7 separate regions of the Homo sapiens genome follow, and regions 1, 2, 3, 4, 6 and 7 are each linked to region 5. Evidence: promoter capture Hi-C in 16 types of primary human blood cells and fetal thymus (Javierre and others, 2016). All regions are on one chromosome and are shown on one strand. The core of a region is centred on a gene start or on the middle of the fragment in contact, and the rest is flanking DNA. Distances in the headings are between cores, read along the strand shown.

What was found. The method cuts DNA at HindIII sites, captures the fragments that hold promoters and counts their contacts. A CHiCAGO score of 5 or more calls a contact.
Region 1: a fragment that was not itself captured here is called in contact with the fragment with the promoter of HSPA9 in region 5 in 6 of 17 cell types (erythroblasts, megakaryocytes, naive CD8 T cells and 3 more); the score reaches 11.7 in erythroblasts.
Region 2: a contact is called between a fragment that was not itself captured here and the fragment with the promoter of HSPA9 in region 5, in 15 of 17 cell types (erythroblasts, megakaryocytes, monocytes and 12 more). The highest score is 20.6, in erythroblasts.
Region 3: a fragment that was not itself captured here is called in contact with the fragment with the promoter of HSPA9 in region 5 in 1 of 17 cell types (neutrophils); the score reaches 5.4 in neutrophils.
Region 4: a fragment that was not itself captured here is called in contact with the fragment with the promoter of HSPA9 in region 5 in 4 of 17 cell types (total CD8 T cells, megakaryocytes, monocytes and 1 more); the score reaches 6.5 in total CD8 T cells.
Region 6: a contact is called between a fragment that was not itself captured here and the fragment with the promoter of HSPA9 in region 5, in 12 of 17 cell types (monocytes, erythroblasts, fetal thymus and 9 more). The highest score is 13.5, in monocytes.
Region 7: a fragment that was not itself captured here is called in contact with the fragment with the promoter of HSPA9 in region 5 in 1 of 17 cell types (naive B cells); the score reaches 5.7 in naive B cells.

Annotation. Positions count from the first base shown.
Region 1 is chr5:139,307,827-139,310,753 of GRCh38, forward strand. MATR3 (matrin 3) reads left to right here. Exons shown (of 15, transcript NM_018834.6): 2 at 1-501. Among named protein-coding and RNA genes, the nearest start is that of MATR3, 16 kb to the left of the region's middle. The HindIII fragment of the contact is 4,094 bases long and covers 1-2,927 here.
Region 2 is chr5:139,324,256-139,326,955 of GRCh38, forward strand. It overlaps MATR3 (matrin 3), which reads left to right. Exons shown (of 15, transcript NM_018834.6): 13 at 1,185-1,407; 14 at 1,908-2,029. Among named protein-coding and RNA genes, the nearest start is that of PAIP2, 16 kb to the right of the region's middle. The HindIII fragment of the contact is 5,429 bases long and covers 1-2,700 here.
Region 3 is chr5:139,567,320-139,570,087 of GRCh38, forward strand. The region is part of intron 1 of UBE2D2 (ubiquitin conjugating enzyme E2 D2); the gene reads left to right. Among named protein-coding and RNA genes, the nearest start is that of UBE2D2, 7.4 kb to the left of the region's middle. RefSeq lists an enhancer at 679-1,180. The HindIII fragment of the contact is 5,795 bases long and covers 1-2,768 here.
Region 4 is chr5:139,365,303-139,368,002 of GRCh38, forward strand. The region is part of intron 3 of PAIP2 (poly(A) binding protein interacting protein 2); the gene reads left to right. It overlaps SLC23A1 (solute carrier family 23 member 1), which reads right to left. Exons shown (of 15, transcript NM_005847.5): 15 at 1,894-2,329. Among named protein-coding and RNA genes, the nearest start is that of SLC23A1, 17 kb to the right of the region's middle. The HindIII fragment of the contact is 6,493 bases long and covers 1-2,700 here.
Region 5 is chr5:138,574,006-138,576,988 of GRCh38, forward strand. It overlaps HSPA9 (heat shock protein family A (Hsp70) member 9), which reads right to left and starts at 1,396. Exons shown (of 17, transcript NM_004134.7): 1 at 1,233-1,396; 2 at 63-121. The coding sequence starts at 1,313. The region is part of intron 1 of LOC105379193 (a long non-coding RNA gene); the gene reads left to right. RefSeq lists enhancers at 977-1,624, 1,141-1,190, 1,431-1,710, 1,625-2,273, 1,851-1,990. The HindIII fragment of the contact is 10,827 bases long and covers 1-2,983 here.
Region 6 is chr5:139,345,293-139,348,007 of GRCh38, forward strand. All of the region lies in intron 1 of PAIP2 (poly(A) binding protein interacting protein 2), which reads left to right. Among named protein-coding and RNA genes, the nearest start is that of PAIP2, 4.8 kb to the left of the region's middle. The HindIII fragment of the contact is 8,536 bases long and covers 1-2,715 here.
Region 7 is chr5:139,408,947-139,411,893 of GRCh38, forward strand. It overlaps DNAJC18 (DnaJ heat shock protein family (Hsp40) member C18), which reads right to left. Exons shown (of 8, transcript NM_152686.4): 8 at 1,257-2,947. Among named protein-coding and RNA genes, the nearest start is that of SPATA24, 6.3 kb to the left of the region's middle. The HindIII fragment of the contact is 414 bases long and covers 1,160-1,573 here.

The DNA.
Region 1 (2,927 bases), core at 1-2,500, 730 kb after region 5:
TTGCCCCAAATCCTTCTACAGCTTAAAAGGAGGAGAACTGAAGAAGGCCCTACCTTGAGTTATGGTAGAGATGGCAGATCTGCTACACGGGAGCCACCATACAGAGTACCTAGGGATGATTGGGAAGAAAAAAGGCACTTTAGAAGAGATAGTTTTGATGATCGTGGTCCTAGTCTCAACCCAGTGCTTGATTATGACCATGGAAGTCGTTCTCAAGAATCTGGTTATTATGACAGAATGGATTATGAAGATGACAGATTAAGAGATGGAGAAAGGTGTAGGGATGATTCTTTTTTTGGTGAGACCTCGCATAACTATCATAAATTTGACAGTGAGTATGAGAGAATGGGACGTGGTCCTGGCCCCTTACAAGAGAGATCTCTCTTTGAGAAAAAGAGAGGCGCTCCTCCAAGTAGCAATATTGAAGACTTCCATGGACTCTTACCGAAGGGTTATCCCCATCTGTGCTCTATATGTGATTTGCCAGTTCATTCTAATAAGGTGAGTTAACTCAACAGATGCTTCTAATTTCTTTTACATTGTAGTGCCTATTTACCTATATCTTTGACTCTAATTCTGTAGTCTGATGACATTGAGTTGATCAAGCATTTTTAAACTTTTGAGAACACTTACTTTATTTGGAAGGTAATTGTTTTTGAGCATTTTAAACCAGGGCTTTACATTAATATATTCTGCCTAGATTACTTCTGGCCACAAAGCTATCATCCACTGAGATTATCTTGTTGGTTTTTGGCATCAATATGTTCTTCTTAATCATATATTTAAGCAGGTTTTTTTTGTCTGCTTTGTTGAATTGTTTTAAGTATTTTTTTTGCAGTCAATGTGCTCTGCCATTCAGGATGCTAGATTTCAGCTCTCCATCTGTCTTGATTGCTGATTTGTATGTAGTAAAGATGTATTCTTGAACAATTCTCTTTTTTTCCTTATCTGTGGCTACAGGGAAAGAGTTAATGTAGAGCCCTGGTGTTTGTTTCAGTATGTTTCATATTTTAGATTAGTTCATTCTTCCTTTTTTAATTTCCCTTTAACACAAACTCTCATACTATGACTGAAATTTTTCATCATTTTTTTTCTCCTTTTCCACAACTTTCTTAAACATACTTCAAAACTCACTTTTTATTATCCCATGTTACATCTGTCCCTTTAGAGACTTGGACAAATCAACTACTACAGTATCCTGCTCTGTGTTCCTCATAAACAAATTCTTTTTCTGAGTTAGGCTTAGACTTCTGAAATAGTCATTTGAAAAGAAAATCTAATTCTCCTTTGCTTTAATTATCACATCTGGCAAAATGGGAACTTTTTCAAAATGCCCTTTTAAATATGTTGTCCTTTCTCTTTCAACTTTTTCAGTGTTACTCATTCTGACTTTTTTTCCCCCAATATATGGTGCAGTTGACTTAAAGTCATTGTTATAGCACCCCACTAGCTTGATCTATAATCTGTGACCGTCCATTTTTTCCTGATGTGCTCTACTTAACTGGAACAAGTTGCTGCCATGAAATTGATTTGATGGTTACTGTTACAGGGTTTTTCTTTACAGTAACATCTGGAAGGGTCATTTTCTTTTCATAGCTAATCCTTTGATAAGCATTTTTTAGTAAATGAGTATGGATTTTTTTTTAGTAGACTAAATCATACCATTGTTTTTAATATTCTGTTAAAGAGTATTACCAGTCACTCCCTTTCCTTGTGTTTGGATCTCAGTATTTTTGTCTTTTAATCTTTAATCTGTACCAAAGTAAATTAACATAAATGCTAAATTTAGGTTTATTTAAACATTTAAGAAGATGTATTTTCATTAAGAAATACAACCCCAGACTCACAAAAGCCAGCAAATTTTAATTGGTATATGTTTTGGGTGTTACCTTTTCCTAAATTTGTTGGCTCTACTAAATATATCATGGAATTCATTTTAGTTTCTGATCAGCACTAAACTTTAAATTTTAGGTCCCGTGTGAATTCATAGAATGAAAAGGTCCATTAAACACTGGTGACTCCAATTTTTTCTGCGTTATTTCTTGCCTGTTTATAAGGAAATAATAGCAGAAATGTCAGTATGACCAATATTCTCAGAAAGGGTCTCTAAATTCTGAGGAAAATAGATAGTTACAAGTGTCTCAAATGAGAGTGATGTGAAGGGACTTAAAAAATCTTCGCTACTGGAGTCATTAAGCTGTTGGGACATCATGAACACAATGGAACCATGAGAGGACTTCGAGAAAAGTTTCTGTTTTTATGTATGATTATGCTTTTTTCCTTCAAATTTTGCTACTTTCTAGTTCCTGAAGAAGGCTAATAACTTAAATGGATCTAAATTAACAAAAGAGCAGTTTTTACATATTTTGATGAAACTATGGATTCAAGAGTAAGATACACTACCCTAGTGCAAGAGGTACTTTTAGCCTGTAAAAATGCTTAGGTCCTAGCTAGTTTTGGTATTCTGTCAAAATACTGAGTACATTTGAGAACTATTTTAGAGGCCTTTTGTTTAATTCTGTGGTTTAAATGTGTAAATTGGACCAACTTTAAGAAGTTTAAACACATGGATTATCTGAATTTCTAGTTTTCTAGTTGCTTTACTATGTTTTTTACGTATATGCATTATATTGAAAAAATCTTTACTCACTTTAGCAGTGGACCCTCTATAACCGCTATAGAAATGACCTTAGAGAAAATTTCTGTGATGGAAGTAGATAATGAAAAATTTTTAAACATTTAATCCTGCTCTCTGGTATTGCTGCATAACTTGGAAAATCTGTTCTTTTTACTTAGTGGTATTGTTAAATAGTCTACATGATCAAAAATTCTTACTGTGAAGTAAGAAACTTAAGTTGAAAATAATTTGTCATGGAGTGTCATTATTTTTAGGTGACTTAAAGTGATGGTGGTGTTTTTATTTCTTT
Region 2 (2,700 bases), core at 166-2,665, 750 kb after region 5:
TTAAACTTGGGCAGTCATTCTTCAGAGCATGATTGTTTTTTTTTTTTTTTTTTTTGGAGACGGAGTCTTGCTCTGTTGCCCAGGCTGGAGTGCGGTGGTGTGATCTCAGCTAACTGCAACCTCCACCTCCCAGGTTCAAGTTCTGCTGCCTCAGCCTCCCAAGTAGCTGGGATTACAGGTGTCCACCACCACACGAGGCTAATTCTTGTATTTTTAGTAGAAACGAGGTTTCGCCATGTTGGCCTGGCTGGTATTGAACTCCTGAGATCTCAGGGTGATCCGCCCACCTCAGCCTCCCAAAGTGCTGGAATTACAGGTGTGAGCCACCATGCCTGGCCCAGAGCTTGGTTTTTTAGCCATTACACTGTTTGAGTATTTGCTCTAAAGAGTAGGTATTTGCAGTATACTGTCTTACAAAGGATATTGCTCAACTTTTACCAAATCAAGTTTTTTACACATTGCCTAGCAGCATTGTAGTCTCAGAAAAGATAAAATATGAATATTCCTATCTCATTTAACTTCTGCTCTTTGTGTGAGGCAGACCTTCCATTTTTTAGTTTTAAAATAAGCTAAATTATTTTTCAAATTATCAGTAATTTTTTGGAAGAAAGGAAGAAGTTACTATTTTGAGCCAATGAATAAAGACAAAGACGCGGCCGGGCACGGTGGCTCACGCCTGTAATCCTAGCACTTTGGGAGGCCGAGGTGGGTGGATCACGAGGTCAGGAGATCGAGACCATCCTGGCTAACACAGTGAAACCCCGTCTCTACTAAAATTACAAAAAAAATTAGCCGGGCGTGGTGGCGTGCGCCTGTAGTCCCAGCTACTCGGGAGGCTGAGGCAGGAGAATGGCGTGAACCAGGGAGGCGGAGGTTGCAGTGAGCCGAGATCGCGCCACTGCACCCCAGCCTGGTCGACAGAGCAAGACTCCGTCTCAAAAAAAAAAAGGCAAAGACGCTATCCGTTTCCCTTCAAGTAAAGCAGACAGAAGGGATGCTGCAGGATAATTGTTGCAGAGTAAATTTGTCTTTCTTAACAGCGTCGTTTTCCAGGGAGTATGGAAGGTTTTGTCACTCTAGATGAGGTTGGTGATGAGGAAGATTCGGAACTTCAGAAACTTCGTAAATCGGGCATGGCATTTAAATCTGGTGACAAAAATGATGATGGTTTGGTTGAAATTAAGGTGGACAAGATCGAGGAACTTGATCAAGAAAACGAAGCAGCGTTGGAAAATGGAATTAAAAATGAGGAAAACACAGAACCAGGTGCTGAATCTTCTGAGAACGCTGATGATCCCAACAAAGATACAAGTGAAAACGCAGATGGTCAAAGTGATGAGAACAAGGACGACTATACAATCCCAGATGAGTATAGAATTGGACCATATCAGCCCAATGTTCCTGTTGGTGAGATTTAAGTCTTTGTTCTTCACCTTCCTCACTCTCCTCAAAACAAACTCTTAGGTTTTAAAATAAGATTTTAAAGTTGGTCTTACATAAGCTGTGATAGCATTTTAAATTTGCTTTGTTTCTATGGGGAACAATTTATAAATCTTAATTGATATATTTTCCTCTCATGCATGTCTCTGATTTTGTATTATTTTCTGTTGTTATTCCACAATGTGTTCCCTTTTTTCGTAAAATTTCTTGCAAGTTACACGCTTTTGTTTTGCTTTTCTGTGTTGTTTTTCTGTATTATATTTCTTTTTTTAAGAATACAGTTAGGTGAGACCTCAAACATCAATTAGGTAAAAGCAAAATATGGTTCGGTTTTTGTTTTTTATCTTAGGCTGTATTGGACTTCTCAAAAACATGTTGTTTCATTTAAATTATGTTGACAGGTGAAATTGTGAATACTAAATAAAATCTTCAGTTTAATTTGTAAGAATGTATGTTTGTATTTCTAGGTATAGACTATGTGATACCTAAAACAGGGTTTTACTGTAAGCTGTGTTCACTCTTTTATACAAATGAAGAAGTTGCAAAGAATACTCATTGCAGCAGCCTTCCTCATTATCAGAAATTAAAGGTAAGGTTGAATGTAAAACAGTTCTTTTGTGAAAACTTAACAAGTTATGGAAATAAGTGGGGTATATAAGTAAAATGTGTATAGTGTTCTCTCTAGACTCAGTGCAGTGCTTTCTCCTGAAGATAACTTTTTATTTACTTTTTTTTTTTTTTTTAAAGACAGTTTCTCTCTTGTTGCCCAGGTTGGATTGCAATGGTGCAATCTTGGCTCACTGCAACCTCTACCTCCTGGGTTCAAGCAATTTTCCTGCCTCAGCCTCCCAAGTAGCTGAGATTACAGGCATGCACCACCACACCCAGCTAATTTTTGTATTTTTAGTAGAAATGGGGTTTCACCATGTTGGCTAGCCTGGCTGGTCTTGAACTCCTGACCTCAGGTGATCCACCCACCTCAGCCTCCCAAAGTGCTGGGATTACAGGCATGAGCCACCGCGCCTGGCCTTTTCTTTCTTTATTGATGGGTTATCAAAACATCTGTTGAACCTCTTGTCATAGTTTACCCTTGCTACATAACAATTTAGTGTTTTCTAACCATATTATAAATTCTGTGGTAGAATTAAACTTATTCAAGTATTCTCAGATTGTTGTTGGGCTGTACTTTCTCTAATTTGAAAGATGCTGGGAGTCTGAATACTAAAAGTGGCATGACCATTCATATTAAAATAATTTTTA
Region 3 (2,768 bases), core at 215-2,714, 990 kb after region 5:
GAACTCCTGACCTTGTGATCCACCTGCTTCGGCCTCCCAAAGTGCTGGGAATACAAGCATGAGACACCGTGCCCGGCCTTAAGTAGTTTTTAAATACAATTCTAATTAACTTGCTTTTTTTTTTTGAGACCTCAGGTGATTTGCCCGCCTTGGCCTCCCAGAGTGCTGGGATTACAGGGATGAGCCACTGCACCCAGCCAATTTGCTAAGTTTTTTTTTTTTTTTTTTTTTTGAGATAGAGTCTCGCTCTGTTGCCCAGGCTGGAGTGCAGTGGCACAATCTCGGCTCACTGCAAGCTCTGCCTCCTGGGTTCACGCCATTCTCCTGCCTCAGTCTCCCGAGTAGCTGGGACTACAGGCATGCACCCCCATGCCCAGCTACTTTTTGTATTTTCAGTAGAGACGGGGTTTCACCATGTTGGCCAAGCTGGTCTCAAACTCCTGACCTCCAGTGATCCACCCGCCTCGACCTCCCAAAGTGCTGGGATTACAGGCGTGAGCCACTGTGCCCCGCCTTTTGTATGGTTTTGTGTGAGGTCTTGGGAAAACCAGTTTTGTAAATACATTGATCCCGTAGAAGTTTATGTATTACTCTTCCATTATGATCTGTTTCATGTTTTGAGTTTCTCTGTAGACTGACAATACACTTTGAAAATGTCTGAGATTGGGAAGTTACCGAAGCATGATCTTAAAGAAAGTAGTTGTAACGCTGAACAGTACTGTATTTTAAAAAATTGCTTAGGCTGGGTGCGGTGGCTTATGCCTGTAATCCCCCAGTACTTTGGGAGGCTGAGGCGGGCCGACCACCTGAGGTCAGGAGTTCGAGACCAGCCTGCCCAATATGGTGAAACCCTGTCTCTACTAAAAATACAAAAATTAGCCAGGTGTGGTGGCACTCACCTGTAATCCCAGCTACTCAGGAGGCTGAGGCAGGAGAGTTGCTTGAACCTGGGAGGCAGAGGTTGCAGTGAGCCAAGATCTCGCCACTGCACTCCAGCCTTTGCAACAGCGAGACTCCATCTCAAAAAAAAAAAAATTGCTTAAAAATACTGTAGGCCGGGCTGGGCGCTGTGGCTCATGCCTGTAATCCCAGCACTTTGGGAGGCCAAGACAGGTGGATCACAAGGTCAGGAAATCGAGACCATCCTGGCTAACACGGTGAAACCCCATCTCTACTAAAAATACAAAAAATTAGTCAGTGTGGTGGCAGGTGCCTGTAGTCCCAGCTATTCGGGAGACTGAGGCAGGAGAATGGCGTGAACCGGGAGGCAGAGCTTGCAGTAAGTGGAGATCGCGCCGCTGCATTCTAGCCTGGGCGACAGAGCGAAACTCTGTCTAGAAAAAGAAAAAAATGAAAATAAAAAATACTGTAGGCCGGGCGCGGTGACTCACGCCTGTAATCCCAGCATTTTGGGATGCCGAGGTGAGTGGATCACGAGGTCAGGAGTTCAATACCAGCCTAGTCAAGATGGTGAAACCCTGTCTCTACTAAAAATATAAAAATTAGCCGGGCATGGTGGTGAGCACCTGTGATCCCAGTTACTGGGGAGGCTAAGGCAGAGAGTTGCTTGAACCCGGGAGGTGGAGGTTGTGGTGAGCTGAGATCGCACCACTGCAGTCCAGCTTGGGCAACAGAGCAAGACTCCGTCTCAAAAAAGAAAAAAAAATACTGTACTAGAGGTGTGGTACCATATATTAGATTAATATTAGAGGTAAGGACTGATTGAATTCCTATCAAAATGATGAATTAACAGGTAGTCCTGTGGAGTATTGGGAACTTTAATAAATGGTTGTCTGAATATGGCTATTTAAATTAGTTCTATCTTGGATAGTTCTATCTTGGATACCTTCTTACTCCAAAAGGTGAGCTTCTTCACATAAGTTCTGGGAATTTTTTTTTCCCCACTAAAAAAGTATTTTTTATTTCCTTTACAAAAGATCATTGAATTAAGGCACTTTCTTTGGCTCTACTAGATTGTTATTTAAATATAATTCAAACAGCCATCGAGGATAACTGTTAATAAATCTAGGTTTTCTCTGAAGTCTCCCAGTGTATATTACTGTACTGATGACTGACAAGGAAGAGGTTTTGACAAGGTCCAATTCTGTATATTTCTCTTAAAATATCCTAGGCAGTTCCCAGGATAGGAGTATCTGACTCATGCCTCATGCTACCAGGAACCTTTGCAGCCTCATCCCAGAAATGCAGAAACACACTTGTTTTGTCTGTAGAAATAAAGTTTTGATGGTTAGATTTCCAGGCAAACCTTCAAAATCATGTTAAACTATAATATAGGGAAATAAAGTAGTGTTTGTTCTTCTGTCTGCAGAGTCAAGTGAGATTTTGGGTAATAGAATCATAAAATGTTAGCACTGCAGCACATCTCAGGGCTGCTGTCTGGAAAGGCCGTGTGACCTACCAGGTAAGAGTAGGTCTGAATTGAGAACCTGGATTTCTGGACTGTCCAGTGTATTTTCTGGCAAGCCATGTGTTATCCTTACATAGCTGTTAGGTATATAAATCCAGAGGATGCAGCCTTTTTTCTTTTGTTCAAACAATTGGATATTTAAACTGTGTCCTGGAACCTGAAGATCTTCCTCAACTTCCCTTTATATGATTGGCAAGGTTGCTCATACTGCTTGAAACTGCAAATTTAGGCTTGACACAGTGGCTCATGCCTGTAATCCCAACACTGGGAGGCCAAGGTGGGAGGATTGCTTGTACCTAGGAGTTCAAGACCAGCTTGGTCTGTAATGGGAGACCCTGTC
Region 4 (2,700 bases), core at 21-2,520, 790 kb after region 5:
TGGTGAAACCCCATCTGTACTAAAATTACAAAAATTAGCTGGGTGTGGTGGTGCATGCCTGTAAGTAATCCCAGCTACTCAAAAGGCTGAGGCAGGAGAATTGCTTGAATCTGGGAGGCGGAGGTTGCAGTGAGTGGAGATCGCACCATTGCACTCCAGCCTGGGCAACAGAGTGAGACTCTGACTCAAAAAAAAGAAAAAAAAAATACAAAAATTAGCTGGACATGGTGGCGGGCGCCTGTAGTTCCAGCTACTTGGGAGGCTGAGGCAGGAGAATCGCTTCAACCTGGAAGGCAGAGGTTGCAGTGATCCGAGATTACGCCACTGCACTCCAGCGTGGGTGACACAGCAAGACTGTCTCAAAAAAAAAAAAAGGAAAAAGGAATTGTGCTGCTTTTTACAATGGAAGCAGAGTCTCACGACATGGAATCACTTCCGGCAACACTGTAGAGCTAGTCTTAGACGGACTTCTAGCCCCTGCTTTTAGTCCTGATGTTGCCCTAGGGTACTTAAATGTCCTAAAGAATTAATAATTTAAAAACACACACAATATTATCATGTTACTTGCCTATACAGAAGTAGCTTGATGGAGAAGTTTTGCTCTTTAATCTTGTCTTGGCTGGGTGCAGTGGCTCATGCCTGTAATCCCAACACTTTGGGACGCCGAGGCACGCGGATCACGAGGTCAAGAGTTCGAGACCAGCCTGACCAACATGGTGAAACCCCGTCTCTACTAAAAGTATACAGAAAATTAGCTGGTTGTGGTGGTGCGTGCCTGTAATCCCAGCTACCTGGGAGGCTAAGGCAGGAGAATCGCATGAATCTGGGAGGTGGAGGTTGTGGTGAACCAAGATGGTGTCGTTGCACTCTAGCCTGGGCGACAGAGTGAGACTCCACCTCAAAAAAAAAAAAAAAAAAAAAAGCGGGGTGGGGGGAATTGTGATAACTAAACATCAGCACTAGAGTGAGAACTGGCTGGGTCCACTGAACTAATCTGTACACCATGATTACCTATGAAGCATTAAATACAAAAATCAGTTCTTTAGTTACATCCCAACATGCTCAGTTGTCTGGGCATGTTAATTTTTTAAAAGTACTACAGAGGATTTATTATACAGCCAACTTGCCTGAGTCGGTCATTTGGAAACCATTCTTCTAAAGGATGGTGTAGAGAGCACTGAAGTTTACATTGTGGTATATAGCCTTTGTTGCAGTAAGTGATGGTAACCCATTTGAGCAGCTGTATGATCTGAATAGTCTGGAGGGGGGTATGATTACTTACGGCTACATTAGTCACCATAAATAATCCAGTTGCCCTGCAGAGTAACACTCTTGGCTGAGCATAATGTATAACTTTAATCTGGACCCAGTATAATTCCATAGTACAGAAGCTGGTTTGTTCTTCTCAGTCTATTTGATATTACTTTGTTTCATTCTTCTGTTGCTCCCAGAAAATTGTTCATTTAAGAACACTGTGCCTGGATGTGGTGGCTCATGCTTGTAATCCCAGCACTTTGGGAGGCCAAAGTGGGAAGATTACTTTGGCCCAGGAGTTCGAGACCAGCCTGGGCAACAAAGGGAGACCCTGTTTCTACAAAAAGTTTAAAGTTAGCTGGGTGTGGTGGCACAGGCCTGTGGTCCCAGGTACTTGGGAGGCAGAGGCCAGAGGATCACTTGAGCCCAGGAGGCCGATGCTGCAGTGAGCTGTGATTGTTCCGCTGCCCTCCAGTCTAAGCAACAGAGCGAGTCCATGTCTCAAAAAAAGAGAAAAGGAATGCTGCTTTTTTTTCTTAAACTTCACACTTTTAAAATGTAGATACATTATTTCCCTTGGGGGAAGGGAGAATATATCCTGTCCAAAGAAACTGCTATGTATAAATTACGAAACTAAAATTATTTCTTCAACATGATGTTTAATATTATGCATTAGTCTTGAAGTGATGTAGGGTCAAATTCAATGTAAAAGCCTTGCAGCATACCTACATTTCAGGCCCTGGAACCTGCCCTCATTTCTTTTTATTTTTTTCAACTTGCAGTCTAAAATATCACAGAGGAAAATTTCTAGCTGTTCTTCCTAGATGCTGACAAGTCTACTTAGGAGAGTAAAGATTTAGAGACATAGCATAACATTGGTACAAGTCTCTAAGACTCAGACTTTGGCCCATTCCCCCCCACCCCTTTTTTTTTAACTGATGCAAAAATTTGAATCCCAGAGAAAGGTGACTTATCTGAGTTTACACAGAAGTTAGTTAGGGGCAGGGCTGGGATTTCAGGCTTAGGTCTTCTGGTTCCCCATGTAGTTTTCTTTTCCTGTTATATACCATGCTTCCTGTGGGAATTAGAAGATGGCAATTGTAGAAAAACAACTCCACATTTTTAGTGAGGATTCTAAAGTAAAATCAGCAATTCCCCAGTTACTTTAATCATAATTTCAACACTTGTTTAACATGGTTCCTTGGTATTTAGTGTTTAAAGAAAGCTACATACCATAGTTCGATTAACAGAATTCCTTGTTCCGTGCTATTCCTTTAACTTATGTGAAGTTACTGGATTTCTGGTTACACTTAAGCAAACTGAATTTCAATTCCTATTTTCTCTTTAGAAAATTGATGTAATTTAGGCCGGGTGCAGTGGCTCACGCCTGTAGTCCCAGCATTTTAGGAGGCCGAGGCAGGCAGATCACGAGGTCAGATCAACACC
Region 5 (2,983 bases), core at 146-2,645:
AGAAAACACTGCTTTGAAGTTTAATATGTATTCCCTCTCAAAGGAAATGATATTATACTTACGCATAATCCCGCCTTGAAACAAGTCTAAAAGCCTCATGACTAAGGCCATTCCAGCTATCCTAAAAAAGAAAAAACTGACTCAGTCACCAACCAGTGTGTATCCTGGGAGGAAAAAGAGAAAACTTGGGCTCACTTAGTATATAAAATACATTAAGCTACTAAAACAGTAAATATTAAAGTTTCCCAAATAAGTAAGACGAAAAAAGGTAAATAAAAGATGGCCTTAGAATCACATTACAGTAGGATTTCTCAACCGTGGCGCTATTAATTTTGGGCGAAATTTTTGTGGTGGGGGCTGTTCTGTGCATTGTAGGATATACAGCAGCATCCCTGGCCTCGACACCCTAGAAACCAATAAGCACCCCAGTAAGTAAGTGACAACCTAAAATATCCACAGACATTGCCAGATGTCCCCTGGGGGAAAACACTTCCCCTTACCTTGCCGTGCAATTAGTTTAAAAGAACTAGAGTTACTAAGGGTCTTTGAAAGAAAAAAGAAAAGTAGTGGCGTTTCACTAGGATAAAAGACCTTTATTACAACTTAACCTCAGGCTCCTTCCAAGCCTTCCTTAATGCCCACATACAATTCCTGTTCTCTAAAGCATTTGTCTTTTATTTTAGAAAACAAGTAACCACTCCATAGCCTTTTCTCCGCCCCACGATCTGCTTTTTTTTCTGAAGTAACAAACGAGTACAATCTTACACCACAGATTTTGAGAAAATGTTGCTAAGCACGAAAACTGGAGTTCCGACTCAGAGCTTTCTTATTTTATTTCACCGTATCAACGGGATCCTTACACACTCTGTATTCTGTAGAGGAGCCAAAAATAAAACTGAAAATAGTGGCTTTCCCAATAGACTGCATCCCTCACCCCCAAGGCCAAACCTTTCCATTCAGCCACAGAACAGGCCATGAGGACCACTACCTGGTAATTTTGAAATGACACTCTAGATCGCGAGGGGTGTGACTCAGCAGGGCCCAAGCCGGAGGCAAAACCTTGGGCAAAATCTTGACCCGGCAGCGCTAACTATGGAAGGCCCGTTACCTTCCTTCCCGCCTGACCTATACTGGAGAATTCAAACCCTAAAGGGCGCGCGGCCTGCCGCAGCGAAGCCCGAGGCCCAAGGCCCGAGGCCGTGACCCCATTCGGGAAGGTCCCAGTTCCTCACCTGGTGGCGGGCGGCCGTAGGGCCCCGGGAGGCTGCGGCGCCCACGAGACGGGCTGCTGCAGCTCGGCTGGCACTTATCATGGCGGATAAATGGAGGAGTACGAGGCAGCAAACAAGCGCTCCGACGGCAAAGAGCTGCGCGATGCGGTGGCGGCAGCGCTTCTGGAAACCTCCAACCACGTGGGGTGAGGGGCGGGGGTTGGTCACTGCGGCCCAGAGGCCCGCTCTTCCGCTGAGGCGCCGCCCGCGCCGCCTGACCAGAGGATACTCGACTGCCGCTCCCGGAGCCAGGGCGTACAGGTAATATGCTCCGCAGCATGATGGTTGGAGAAAGCCTGCCCTCCTGTCCCGGCTGCGGCGGCTCTGAGCTCAGAAAGAGTCCAGGGGAGGAAGAGGGATATGAAGGCCGTATCTCGGACAGCCCCGGTCCTCGGCGACAGGAAAGACTCAAGGTCACACGGGATAAATTGCGAACCGATTACAGTCTTCTTGCGTCAGTTGCGCGGGAGGAGGAGCCTGTTGGCGCAACAGACATCCAGCTAAGAACCTAGAGCGCATGTGCGCAAGGAGTGGCGGAAAACATGGGTGGAGACTAACTGCGGCGCTCACTGGGTGCCCGAGTGCACGCCAGCGTTCCCTGGGGCGAGCCCGGGCGCGTGCACACCCCCCGGGCGTGGACGTGTTCCCAGCTCCCGCTCCTGGAGGACGGCGCCATCTTGTCTTGTGGCTTTGTGAAGTGAGGACGTCAGTACTTTTGTTGTTTGGTCCCGCCCGTTGTTCACAACTTGAAAGACACTTGGATATGCAGACAGACGTTAAACAATTTCGTGTTGCGTTTTATCACAGGGGTCTTGGGTTTCCAACTACGAAGCGTTTGATTCACACAGAACATTAGGCCAATTAGCCTGCACAAAGGGAAAAAAAAATAGCTGAGCTTGGCCGGGCGCTCACGCCTGTAATCCCAGCACTTTTGGGAGGCCGAAGCGAGCGGATCGCGAGGTTAGGAGATCGAGACCATCCTGGCTAACACGGTGAAACCCCGTCTCTACTGAAAATACGAAAAAGTAGCCGGGCGTGGTGGCAGGCGCTTGTAGTCCCAGCTACTCGGGAGGCTGAGGCAGGAGAACGGCGTGAACCCGGGAGGCGGAGCTTGCAGTGGGCCGAGATCGCGCCACTGCACTCCAGCCTGGGCGACAGAGCGAGACTCCGTCTCAAGAAAAAAAAGAAAAATAGCTGAGCTTCAGGCTCTTCCTCTCCCCACTGTGCTGGGCCTGACTTGAGACTCCTCTGGCCCTTTTTAAACCTTGTGCTGGTGGCAGGATGTCAACTACTTCACTACCCTGTGACCAGTTTTTAGGTTTTTGTTTTTTTTTTTGAGGCAGTCTTTGTCGCCAGGCTTGAGTGCAGTGGCGCCATCTCGGCTCACTGCAACCTCTGACTCCCTGGTTCAAGCTATTCTCCTGCCTCAGCCTCCCAAGTAGATGGGATTACAGGCGCGCGCCACCACGCCCAGCTAATTTTTATATTTTTGGTAGACACCGGGTTTCACCATGTTGGCCAGGATGGTCTCGATCTCCTGACCTCGTGATCTGCCTGCCTCGGCCTCCCAAAGTGCTGGGATTACAGGCGTGAGCCACCGCGCCCAACCCAGTTTTAGATTTTTAAGAAGAGGAATTAATTGATTCAACAGATATGTTTTGGCATGCCTACCGTGTGTCAGTCACTCTCCCAGGTGGTAGGAATACAGCGAA
Region 6 (2,715 bases), core at 86-2,585, 770 kb after region 5:
CCTCCCAAAGTGCTGGGATTACAGGTGTGAGCCACCGCGCCCAGCCCAGAGCCCATGTTTTTTAATCGTTACCTTACTGTGCCAAATAGTAAAACAAAAAATTCGGTGCTTTTCACAGACTTCAGAGTGGAAAACAGACCAATTGAAAAATGTTGCGATCCTCTTTAACTGCCAAAGGAAGTATGCTTAAACGTATATATGCGTAAAATACGATTAAAAAATATGCAAATAAGGTAAGGATCACAGTGGTTCAAAACAGAGTCCAAGGGAATGAGAAAAGATGGTGCCTATGGAGGTAGATTAATGAAAGAAACAGAAGAGAACTATGCTTGAATTTTTTTTTTTTTTTTTTTGAAACGGAGTCTTGCTCTGTTGCCCAGGCCTGAGTGCAGTGGCATGATCTCATTTCACTGCAAGCTCCACCTCCCGGGTTCATGCCATTCTCTTGCCTCAGCCTCCTGAGTAGCTGGGACTACAGACGCTTGCCACCATGCCTGGCTAATTTTTTGTATTTTTAGGAGAGATGGGGTTTCACCGTGTTAGCCAGGATGGTCTCAATCTCCTGACCTTGTGATCCGCCCACCTCGGCCTCCCAAAGTGCTGGGATTACAGGCGTGAGCCACCGCACCAGGCCTATATTTGAATTTTAATGAGAATTCTTAAAAGATGAAACTAGTGGAGAAAGATTGTAAAACCTAAAAGATTTCTGTATTTTAAAATTCCATAGACAATATAAAAGGACACTGCTGGAAACCAATATGTCTAAGAGGCATTTCAGGAGGGGAAAAACAGCTGAAGACACAATAAAGCCCTAAGTTGATAAATTGAAAGGGTTTGCTGACTTCCAGGCAGTAGTACTGGGAAAAAATTGCTCTTACCTATCCAAAATCTGGTGAAATATATGAATTTGTTAAAACATCTTAAGCTGTCGTCTAGAACAGGATTTTTAAATTTTTATTTATTTTTTTGAGACGGAGATTTGCTCTGTCACCAGGCCGGAGTGCAGTGGCGCAATCTTGGCTCACTGCAACCTCCGCCTCCCAGGTTCCAGTGATTCTCCTGCCTCAGCCTCCCCAGTAGCTGGGACTACAAGCATGTGCCACCACGCCCAGCTAATGTTTGTATTTTTAGAGACGGGGTTTCACCATGTTGGCCAGGATGGTCTCAATCTCTTGACCTCATGATCCACCCCCTTGGCCTCCCAAAGTGTTGGGATTACAGGCGTGAGCCACCGCACCTGGCCTATTTTTATTTTTTGAGATGCAGTCTCCCTCTGATGCTCAGGTTGGAATGCAGTGGCACCATCTCAGCTCACTGCAACCTCTGCCTCCCAGGTTCAAGCAATTCTCCTGCCTCAGCCTCCCGAGTAGCTGGGACTACAAGCGTGCACCTCCATGTCCAGCTAATTTTTGCATTTTTAGAGACGGGGTTTCGCCCAAGTTGGCCAGGATGGCCTCAATCTCTTGACCTCGTGATCCACCCCCTTTGGCCTCCCAAAGTGCTGGGCGTGAGCTGCTGCGCCCAGCTTATTTTTATTTTTTGAGATGCAGTCTCAGTCTGTTGCTCAGGCTGGAATGCACCATCTCAGCTCACTGCAACCTCTGCCTCCCAGGTTCAAGCAGTGCTCCTGCCTCAGGCTCCCGAGTAGCTGGGACTACAGCTGTGCGCCACCATGCCTGGCTTAGTTTTTGTATTACTAGAGATGGGGTTTCACCATGTTGGCCAGGGCCGGTCTCAAACTCCTCACCTCAAGTGATCCACCTCCCTTGGCCTCCTAAAGTGCTAGGATTATAGGTGTGAGCCACTGCACCCAGCCTAGAACAGGATTTTTAAAAGGAAAGAAAATTGATTTTCTACAACATTGAAAGTTGGAATTATTGACAATAGATTATCAACAGGAAGCACAGACATCTCAGAATTCTGTTACAACTAATTTTTTTTTTAGCACATTTACATGGAAATACTCATGTTACAACTTTTTTTTTTTTTTTTTTTTTTTAAGACACAGTTCCGCTCTGTCGCCCAGGCTGGAGTGCAGTGGCGCGATCTTGGCTCACTGCTACCTCCACCTCCCGAGTTCAAGCGATTCTCCTGCCTCAGCCTCCTGAGTAGCTGACACTACAGGCGCCCACCACCATGCCCGGCTAATTTTTGTATTTTTGGTAGAGGCAAGGTTTCACCATATTGGCCGGGCTTTTCTAGAACTCCTGACCTCAAATGATCCACCCACCTTGGCCTCCCAAAGTGGTGGGATTACAGGCCTGAGCCACCACGCCAGGCCATACAACATTTTTATTCAAACATGAAGGCAAAAGATGTTTTGTAGCATTAGGAGATACACCTAATGCTAAATGACGAGTTAATGGGTGCAGCACACCAGCATGGCACATGTATACATATGTAACTAACCTGCACATTGTGCACATGTACCCTAAAACTTAAAGTATAATAATAATTTTTAAAAAACTGTGGTACATCCATAAAAAAAAAAAAGATGTTTTGGACACTGGCTTAGAATGATAAATCCTCAGGTAGCCTTTTGAACTATTTTACAAAGATAGGAAGTTAGGGGAAGATGATGAATATAAGAAACAACTCGGCCAGTGTGGTGGCTCATATCTGTAATCCCAGCACTTCGGGAGGCCGAGGTGGGCGGATCACCTGAGTTCAGGAGTTCTAGACGAGCCTGGCCAACATAGTGAAACCCCATCTCTA
Region 7 (2,947 bases), core at 117-2,616, 830 kb after region 5:
TACCACACAAAGTTTCCTGGGTTTTTGACTTTTTAATTTTTTTTTTTTTGAGACGGAGTCTTACTCTGTCGCCCAGACTAGAGTGCAATGGTGCAATGTCGGCTCACTGCAACCTCCGACTCCCAGGTTCAAGCGATTCTTCTGCCTCAGCCTCCTGATAGCTGGGATTACACACACCCGCCATCATGCCTGGCTAATTCTTGTATTTTTAGTAGAGATGGGGGTTTCTCCATGTTGGTCAGGCTGGTCTCAAACTCCCGACCTCAGGTGATCCACCCACCTCAGCCTCCCAAAGTGCTGGGGTTACAGGTGTGAGCCACTGTGCCTGGCCAACTTTTTAATTTTATTGTTAGAGACGGGGTCTTGCTATATCACTCAGGCTGGTCTCAAGGTCCTGGCCTCAAGTGATCCTCCCACCTCAGCCTCTGGAGGTAGCTGGGATACAGGTGTGCAAAACCGTGCCTGGCTTGGGTTGCTGACTTTGGCACTTGGATGGGTGGAAGTGCTAGTGATGGTAATGGGAGCACTGGAAGTCTTGCTTCCGTTCTCCTTCACTAAATAAAAATCTACTCATCTCTGTAGGAAGGGTGATTATATTTCACATATTTCTTCCTCAGAGTTGCTTTCACTGACCCCTCAGACTGGGTTAAATCCCTTTGTTATACAGTCTGTGGTCACCTTGGTCTCCCTTTAGCTATTCATTGCACTGGGGAGTGCTGTGGAAAGCCTGGCCTCCCCATTAGATGTGAGCTCCAGGAGTCTTGGTGCTGGGCCTCACCTGTTCCCTGACCCCCATTCCAAAAACCCAGCCCACCTGGCTCAGAGTAAGTTCTCAATCATTGCTGAATTGAATCTCATCTCACTTTCTTTTTCAAATGAAAGCTATCATGACCAGTTAGGATCATGTAAATATCATTTACTATATTTTTAAACCAAAACTTTCCTAAATATGGGCCACTAGGACCAAAGCCAGCAAGGAACTGGGATAACACCTGAATTTCTGATGCTAAGTGTAGTTTTGATCTGTATATTGGCTGTGAGGTACTGCAGCTGCTGTTATCTGATAGAAAATGTGGAACTGATGCCAACAATGCTATCTACTATTCTAAATGCAAATAATCCCACTGACGGGTGAGGGAAGACTGGAGCAGGCGTCAAAAGCTTCTTTAGTCGGAAGTGGCTCCAAGGGAGTCAGGCGATGTGCAGTGGCCAAGGATGCCATGGGCAAAGGTAAAAGAACCAAGGAAAAGTAGCCATTCTTTTAATATAAAATTGTTTAATGTTTTTCTTTGTTGCAGTACACTCAATCCAGATGTAGTGGATGAGGTGGCCAGATTTTTTCAAGATTCTTAGTCCACCAGGAGCTGATTCCATTTGTGTCATCCCTACTCTGGTCACAGAACATTCACATCTTTAATTCCAAATACTGAGCGTGATGTAAATGATGTAATCAGTATCTAACACGAGTATATACTTTCTTGGTGGCCACTGCATGACATATCAACAGTGCAGCCTCAAAAAAAAGATGTTTTGTAACTTGGCCCTTTCCAAAAATAAATATATTAGGACACTAAGCTTATACCTTAAATGAGGGCAGAATAAATATGAATGAAGTGCAAGCTCCTGTGAGGAGCAGTGCATGCAGATGATGTACTTGCTTGTATGGTGTGGCCAGCTGTAACAGAAAGCCACTGGAACGGCACAGTGCCTCCTCACAAAGCCCATCCTGGGTATCATGAGGAAAAAGAATGACACATAGCTTGGCCAGGCTGCTGGAACCCATGTTCCAGTGGCATCTGGAGTTCACTGTATTTTCTTTTTTCTTTCTTTTTTTTTTTTTGAGACAGAGTCTTGCTCTGTCACCCAGGCTGGAGTGCAATGATGTGATCTCAGCTTACTGCAACCTCTGCCTCCCAGGCTCAAGAGATTCTTCTGCCTCAGCCTCCTGAGGAGCTGGGATTACAGACACGTGCTACCATGCCCGCCTAATTTTTGTATTTTTAGTACAGACAGGGTTTCACCATGTTGGCCAGGCTGGTCTGGAACTCCTGACCTCAAATGATCTGCCTGCCTCAGCCTTTCAAAGTGCTGGGATTACAGGCATGAGCTACTGGGCCTGGCCAGTTCACTGTATTTTCGAACAATTTCCAACAGAAAGCACAGCAGTGACGTTTCCTTACTGGTCACTGCTCCCGTGCTGTGAGGCCTGGAGCTGATCAAGGAAGCTTACACATTTCCCGGCCTGAGCAGATGAACTCTAGGGTTGCTAATCTGGGGACGTGGGTTCCTTCAAGCTCTTTGTGATGAGAAGGATTTTCATCCTCCTTTTCTCACTGCCGATCGTGCGGTAGAGAGAGCATCTTCATTTGAATGAGAGCTTCAGTTTCTGCTTGAGCCTCAAGCCCTATTTCTGAGCGCTGCTCCTCTCACACACGTCTCCAATCTGCAGTAATGCTCAAAGAAACAGTCTAGAGCTGGGTGCCAAGCTCCGGCAGCAAGAATAAGCCCTACCTAGTTATGTATGATCAGGAGATCTTCCAAAGGACGTAGGCGAGAGGAAAAAGCTTATTTTACCACCATGCAGACAACCCATCTAAAATATAACCCAGGAAATTATAGCTTCACAATATTCTGGATAGTATCAAATAGATAAATCCTTCAACCAAAAGCAAATACGGTTCCCTTGAGGAAAAACAGATGTGAATGTTGTGGTCTATTGGCAATAAATAAAACAGTACCATCGGTGCTATAAAAACAGACAATCAGCGTGACATTTAATGGAGTTAGTTATTATTGCTTCTATTTAGTATCATCACAGATTACTTATCGCTGCCATGAAGTCCATAAAATGTGTGACTACCTGATTCCTGGGCATCTAGGACAGGGTCTTTTAACCTGTCAAGTCAGTTTCATTATGGCCAATTTTCTAGCAGTGGTTGGGGATGGG